Linked DNA regions of Homo sapiens: region 1 is linked to region 2. Evidence: promoter capture Hi-C in human tissues and cell types (Jung and others, 2019). All regions are on one chromosome and are shown on one strand. The core of a region is centred on a gene start or on the middle of the fragment in contact, and the rest is flanking DNA. Distances in the headings are between cores, read along the strand shown. Region 1 overlaps RALY (RALY heterogeneous nuclear ribonucleoprotein). Region 2 holds the start of ACTL10 (actin like 10).

The links. The method cuts DNA at HindIII sites, captures the fragments that hold promoters and counts their contacts. A contact is called where the count stands out against the background at its distance.
Region 1: a contact is called between a fragment that was not itself captured here and the fragment with the promoter of ACTL10 in region 2, in 2 of the 25 tissues and cell types used here (bladder and thymus).

Annotation. Positions count from the first base shown.
Region 1 is chr20:33,997,627-34,001,283 of GRCh38, reverse strand. The region is part of intron 1 of RALY (RALY heterogeneous nuclear ribonucleoprotein); the gene reads right to left. Among named protein-coding and RNA genes, the nearest start is that of RALY-AS1, 5.1 kb to the right of the region's middle. RefSeq lists an enhancer at 1,993-2,493. The HindIII fragment of the contact is 3,140 bases long and covers 1-2,887 here.
Region 2 is chr20:33,665,519-33,669,145 of GRCh38, reverse strand. ACTL10 (actin like 10) reads right to left here and starts at 2,203. Exons shown (of 1, transcript NM_001024675.2): 1 at 621-2,203. The coding sequence starts at 1,648. The coding sequence ends at 911. All of the region lies in intron 5 of NECAB3 (N-terminal EF-hand calcium binding protein 3), which reads left to right. RefSeq lists enhancers at 1,401-1,480, 2,291-2,510 and a silencer at 1,831-2,160. The HindIII fragment of the contact is 10,203 bases long and covers 1-3,627 here.

The DNA of each region.
Region 1 (3,657 bases), core at 68-2,567, 330 kb before region 2:
TCTTAAAATGTTTTTTATTTTTCCTTTATTATGTGATTTTAAACAGTTTGCTACATATTTTAATGTAATTTTTTTATAGTCTTGGACTCCAAGTTTGTCCCATGAGGCTACAGCTCCAAGTTTATAATGGAACTCAGCATACAATTTGATAAATTCATCTCACAAGCAATTTTTCAGCAATCTGTCCACTCTAAAAAGCAATATCCATCTGTTTATATACTGAAAGGTATCTTTTGTGAACCCAGAATTTAACCCTCTGAGATACTCTCAATACTTTAGCAAAGCCCTTTCTCCTTCCAGAGATAAATTCTCAAGCCACTTCCACAAAACTGTAAAAAGGTAGAAATATCACTCAAGATTATCTAGTCCAATTCCCTTGTTTCACAGACAGGAAGACAGAGATCCCACAGAATATTAGATAATTACAATTAACATGGGTTTGGCAAGCAACAAAAGCCCACTGACTGCTATTTTCCCCAGTCAAACTCATTGGTGTGTTGGGAAGATAGCCAGATTTGCACTTTAGTTAGTAGAGCACTCCCTAGGAAACTCAAGTATGTACCCTCTAAGAAACCCAAGTATTCAGCCACAACCCCCTACCCCAACCCCAGAATAGAGAACAGGGGGCAGTGGATGTCTTAAATGGCTCTTCTGGAGATGGAGACTAGAGCCCAGGGACAATATCCCATCTTTCCTTCCTTCCTCCCAGGAGGTACAGGACATTGATTACCATGAAAGCCATTATGAAATGACAGAAGACACTAACACTGAGGAAATAAGGCAAGGCTGTGGAAACAAAAGATGACCAACATTAATACTTGGCCAGATACCTGCTTCTACTTATTCGTTCGAAGAGAGGGGAGAAGTGAGAGAGACAGGGACCTCCAACCCTTTTTCTGTCCCTACCTCCCCACCCCCACTCTTTGGGCCTTTATAGAATTTCAGGGACCCCCCCAGATGATTTTATGAGGAAACAGGGCTATAAAAAGAAAGGACCTTAGTCCAGCCCACACACTGACCAAACGATGCTCAGGCTAGTGACAAGACTTCCTATTTATTCCACTGCACTCTGTCTCTATTCCTAAGGGTCTGTGAGCTGCACCCTGAGCACAATTTCCTTACAGTACCCAGGGGGAAGTTGTAGGACAAGCAGGTTAACATTACGGCTGTCATTTTCTCCCTTCCAGCTATATAGACATGAAGCCAAAATTGAATAAGACCAAGACACTCAAGTGAAAACCTTGCTATCTCCACCCCTACTATATCCCCTCACCAATGCCAAACTAAGAAGGGGGAGAAGAAGAAAGAAATACCTCTCCTAGAGATATATTATCTAAACCACCACCTAGAATCATAAAATGTAATTGCTAGAAGGGACCTTATGGGTCATCTAGTCATTATTCAGATGAATAAACCTAGACACGTGCCACCCGAGAAAAAGACTGGAGCACACAGTGGGGTCTCCTGACTCCTATCCCTAATAGAAACCCTTCCGGGTCCCTCTCCATCCTGTCCTACCCTGCCCTGCCCCATCCACCCTCTCCCCAGGCCACCGCTGTATCCAAGCTACTGAGACTTCTGCCCTTCTGGATCATGAGCTCCTTAGGATACGTTTTACTTATCTTTGTTTTCCCAGTGCCTAGCAGAGAGTAAGCAGAGAAGTGGCTTCGGCTTAGAGAGGGACTTAGGAATACACTAGTACACGAAAAGACCAGTGCCAAAGGATGTAGCCTGGATAAAATGTAAACTTTTCTTGGCTTAACGTAAGCAGTTTCCAGGCTGTGCCACACCCGGATGTCTAGGATTGAATATCTCCTCTCTTCCTAAACTAATGTTTGCATCATCCAGTTTAGCCAGGAACATGACCAGTTGTGCCATACTCTCACTCTCTCCCTTTCAGACCTGACACAAAGAACTAGAATCCATAACCAGAGGTAAGTGAAAGCATATGTAAGGAGACCCTGCATAAGAAACCCTACCCCCTCCCTTACGTGCTCCTTCTTCTCCTGTGTCCTCACCTCAATAAACAGCACCCATTTACAAAACTGCACCAGGTAGAAACCAGATGTCATCCCGATTCCTTCCTTACCCTCCACACCAATAATCTTTGTCTCATCACTCAATTCCACCTTTTTTCTTTCCTTTTTTTTTTTTTTTTTTGAGATGGAGTCTCACACCCAGGCTGGAGTGCAGTGGTTCGATCTCAGCTCACTGCAACCTCCACCTCCCAGGTTCAAGTGATTCTCCTGCCTTAGCCTCCCACATAGCTGGGATTACAGGTGCCTGCCACCACACCCGACTAATTTTTTTTTTATTTTTAGTAGAGACGGGGTTTCACCACGTTGGCCAGGCTAGTCTCAAACTCCTGACCTCAGGTGATCCACCCACCTCAGCCTCCCAAAGTGCTAGGACTACAAACGTGAGCCACCACGCCCAGCAATTCCATCTTTTTTCTGCACACACTCTTGCACACGCTCTCCCACAACCTTCATTTGAAACACCATCACCTCTTGCCAACCTCCTAACTGGTCTCTCTGCCCACAGTGTTCTAGCTCTCCAGTCCGCTCCTGAACAGGCAGCCAGAGATATCCTTCCAAAATGCACATTGAATCATGGCCCCCTCACCTCCGGATGAAGTCCAAACTCCTCAACACAGGCAAGAAGGCCCTTTCCTGACTTGGCCTCTGCTCTGCCTACCTTGAAAGTCTCCTGTCTGGCCATATCCACCCACCTCAAGCATTATGCTCCACCCAAGAATCCTGAGAAATTTGTTTAGCTCTCTTGGCCCGTTTCCTTCAACTACAGAATGGGAATAGTAACAGTACGTACTTTCGGGATGGTCTTAACCTATTATCACCATTTCTGAACTTACTGTTCCTTCTACCTAGAACAGTCTTATCTCTGCCTCTTCCCTGACTCCCCAGATCTCTTCTTTTCCTGGCTTATGTCTGTTCTCTTGAGGGCTAGGCTTAACCAACTTCTCCTCCTAAAAAGCCTTCCCTGACCTTCCAATGCTGGGTTAGGCATCATTTTTCTGTGCTCTCCTGGTGTCTGTCCCTGTGACAACACTTCTCACACTGCCTGTTTCCTTGCCTATCTTTCCCACTACGCTATACAAACCCAAATCCCTAAGCGTAGCACCAGGTCTAACAGAGGCTCATTAATTCTTCAGTGAATGAAAAACTTTCCAAAAATGAGGTATCCAAAGAAAGACAATCTCAACAAGTAACCAACTCAAATGTCAGCCAGGTGGCTGGTCTAAATGACTGTAAGGTCCCTCAACTACAAGATTCTATTCAATAAATTCAACACACTGACCTCATGGGTCATATTTGTTTGAACTTTAATATGCAGGCAATGTTGGGGCCATCAGATTTTTAAGGAGAGTGTGACATGACCAGACACATGATCATGTGTTTGTTACCCTATTAACCATCTCTGAGACACTGCCTCTCCCAACCCCCAGTTGTTATCAGGACAATATTCCAACCATCTTCATAAACATGAAGAGCCCACTCCCCTAAATGGACCAACACAGAAAACGGTCAAAGGGCATTTTGAAAGGCTATATGCAGCATCTAACTCCATCTTAACCAACTGCAAGCAGTGAGTATCCATAAACATCCTCCAAGAACCCAAAAGCTAATCCCTCCTGTG
Region 2 (3,627 bases), core at 954-3,453:
GAAGGCAGGGATTTTTGTCTGTTTTATTCTGTTTCCAGCACCCAGAATAATGTCTGGCATACACTGGGTGCTTCATACTAGGGGCTGCTGTTGCTTTAGTTGCTGGCCCATCACAACTGTGGTGGGATATCATTCAGGGCTGGGCTAGGCGTGGAAGGCTGTGCTCACAGGTTCACAGGGCAGGGCCTGGCCCGAGGACATACGTGAGTAGGCAGGTACGTGAACACCCACGCGTTTGTGTGGACACGTGTATACACAAGCTCGAACAGTGCTGATAGCCAGGGCTTGAGGCCCTTGAGTGGTGACTTCCAAAAAATAAGCTGCCCTTCCCTTTGTGTGTTCAAGAAATATCTCCACCTCCCTTTGCTCCATAGCTCTTGTAAGGGGGAGGGAGCAGTGAGCAGGCCCGGGATTGTGCCTGACCCCACTTTTTACAGAAGGGGAAACTGAGGCACTCATAGTCAACAATGACCTGAGCACATGGCTAGGCACAGGGCTCCTCCTCCTGGTGACTTTCACATGAGATTTAGTAGCTTTTCAAGGGATCGCCCCTTGGGGCCTGGCATCGGATGTATGTCCAAATGGTACATGACGAGGGTTTGGAGGAACTCCCATATCTGTGGCATGGACACAAGTGGGGCATCACCTTTATTGCCATAAAGTAGGGCCCTGTGGGTAGGCAGCTGGACTGGCATTCTCTGAACTGGCAGTGGTTGGGGAGATTCAAACTGCAGTTCAAAATGAGGGTCCCATGGGTCCCAAATACCTTCTCCTGGCCCAGAAAGGGTATGGGGGTGACCCATCCAGTCAGCTCCAACCTCCAGGAGGACCCTGCCAGCTCCAAACACTTGACTCTTTAGATAGAGAGCTGTCCCCCAACGCAGTGCCACCCCCCCCAGTCCAGCCTGACTCAGTTGAACACATCGTACAGCAGCCTGGAGCCACACTCCTGGTACATGGCCCGAGTTATCCAGCGGCGCTGGAAGGAGTGCAGGGAGGCCACCATGGAGCCGCCGGTCCACACAGCCATGCCACGCCCATGCTTGGCCACCAGGTGGGGCCGCAGGGCCGCGTAGCCGTGCCGCCGGCACTGCGCCTCCAGCTCCTTGTCCAGGCGCTCGGCGAAGCCAGGAAACAGTGTGGAGCCGCCGGCTAGCACCACGGTGTCTGCCAGGCGTGTCCGCAGCGTTTTGGGCATCTTCTGCAGCGCCCGGAAGGCCAGCGCGGGCAGCCCCTGCTCAGCCTGGCCCAGCAGGCCCGGCTGGAAGATGGGTTCGGGGCAGCGGAAGCGCTCACTGCTGAGGCAGACGCAGCACCCGTTACCCACGCTGAAACTGGCCGGATGGTGGCGGGCGGGGTCGCGGAGGTCGCCCTCGAAGTCCAGGGACACGTAGCAGCTGCGCTTCTTGAGATGTGTGATGGCCTTGCGGGGCAGGGCCTGCTGCAAGAGGTCAGGGTTCGCCGCCACCAGCAGATCCCGCAGGTAGCGCGACAGGGTGCTGCCTGCCACGTTCAGTCGGAAGGTGGCCTGGTGCCACGAGTGACCCGCGTAGATGGGCGTGGCGTGGCACACGCCCGCGCCCGCCTCCACGGCCAGCCCGCTGAACGCGCCGGTGGAGCAGAGCGCCAGCAACGCGGTGCTAGCCATGTGGCACGCGGGCACTGCCAGGGTCTCGAACAGCAGCTCCGCCACCCTTTCGCGGCCCGCGGGCGGCGCCAACGGCGAGTCGCTCACCAGCACGGGCCACTGCTCTGGGCACACCCGCAGGCCGCCCACCAGCAGGCGCTCCCACAGCCCTTCCAGCGCCTCCCAGTCCGCCACCACGCCGTGCTTGATGGGGTGCGCCCGCGCCACGCCGCCCGCCAGCTCGCAGCCCGGCGCTCCGGGCAGCACCGGCCGGTCCCAGCTGGGCACCAAGCTAGAGCTCTTCAGCACTATGCGCGGCTGGTTCTCGCCCGCGAAGCCCGCCTTGGTGAAGCCCGAGCCCTGGTCCACCACCACCGCGATGCGGCCCAGGGAGGACGGCCGGTGCACGCGGCGGCTCCCCGACACCGACGCCACCTTCGGGCTCGGCCCAGCCGCGGGGCTGAAGGCTCCGCTCCTCCGCGCCACTCGGCTTCGTCGGCCCGATACCTCCCGGCCTCTGTCCTAGGGAGTAGTCCCCTTCAGCCTTTGGCTCTGCCTCCGGAGCCTAAGTTCTTCCTCTTCTGGACCAAATCACCACCCTTTTCAGCTCTTGGCTCCGCCCTCTGGTCTGAAAGCCCCGCCTCTTCTGTCCGGGCCATCCGCCTCCTTTTCAGCTCGTGGCTAGTTCCTAGGCCTGAGGCCCGGCCCCTAGTTCAGGCTTCAGTCTCCGCTCTGGCTGGGTTCCAGCCGCATCTCACCCTCTTGGTCTCCCTCTGGCGCCGGGCTTCAGGCTCCACGCTCTCAGGACCCGCCTCTGCTTTGCTGTTCCGCCCCGTCAGCCCTTGCTGAGATGGCTGACGAGATGGCTAGGACTGATCCTTTTAGATCCTAAGAAGCCCCCGGGAGGAGCAGAACTTTGAGGGCGAAGGGGCCTTGTGGTAAGGCCATTTGGACATATATCCCCCTTGAGGACCCAGGCAGCCTCCTGGCACCTCTCACCTGGGCTTGACGGAAGTTCCTGGTTGTGGAGAGGGGAGGGGCTGGTCAGAAGGCAGAAAAGAACTTGGATTGGGCTCATTGTGACCTCACTCCCCAGCAGCTGCACTTCGCAGCTCCCTACCTTATGACAACTCCCTGGACCCATCCTCTCTTCTGGACAGAGCCAAGGGCAGTGATTTTGGCATCCAGGGGTCTGGCTTCAGCAGCCCAGCACAGTCTGATTCCTTTCCCAAACCACTTAGAATTATCTGATGTACTCTGTCCAGATGTGTGGCCCCCTACCCCTCCCAGTGCTGAAGAAAAAGCTTTTTCATCACAGATCTGCAGCTTCCCTGAAGAGCCCCCGAGAGGCTCTGGCCCTACCTTTATGGGCTTCCACGGATGGATTCACGTGGGCCTCAGTTTGAGACTCAGTTCTTTTTTTTATTATTATTATTTTTGAGACGGAGTCTCGGTCACCCAGGCTGGGCGTGCAGCGTTGCAATCTCAGCTCAGTGCAACCTCTGCCTTCCGAGTTCAAGTGATTCTCCTGCCTCAGCCTCCTGAGTAGCTGGGACTACAGGCATGCACCACCATACGCGGCTAATTTTTGTATTTTTAGTGGAGACAGGGTTTCGCCACGTTGGCCAGGCTGGTCTCGAACTCCTGACCTCAGGTGATCCACCTGCCTTGGACTCCCAAAGTGCTAGGATTACAGGTGTGAGCCACCGCACCCAGCAAGACTCAGTTCTGAAGCTGACTCACTGTGCAGTCCTAAGCAAGTCTTGATCTTTCTCTGGGTTCGGTTTTCTCCTCCAAAAGGTAGTAATAATCCCCCCACACAGGAAAGAGGTCACTTCTTGTCTCTGCAAAGCCTCATCCTCCTGAGGACCAGTTTGGTTGCAGGTAGAAGACTCAGGTGAATGTAACCCAAAATAAGGACTTTATTGAAAGGATCTTACATGTTATGGATATCAAGAGCAAGGGTGAAATCAGGTTTCAGGAACAGAATCTGACTGCGG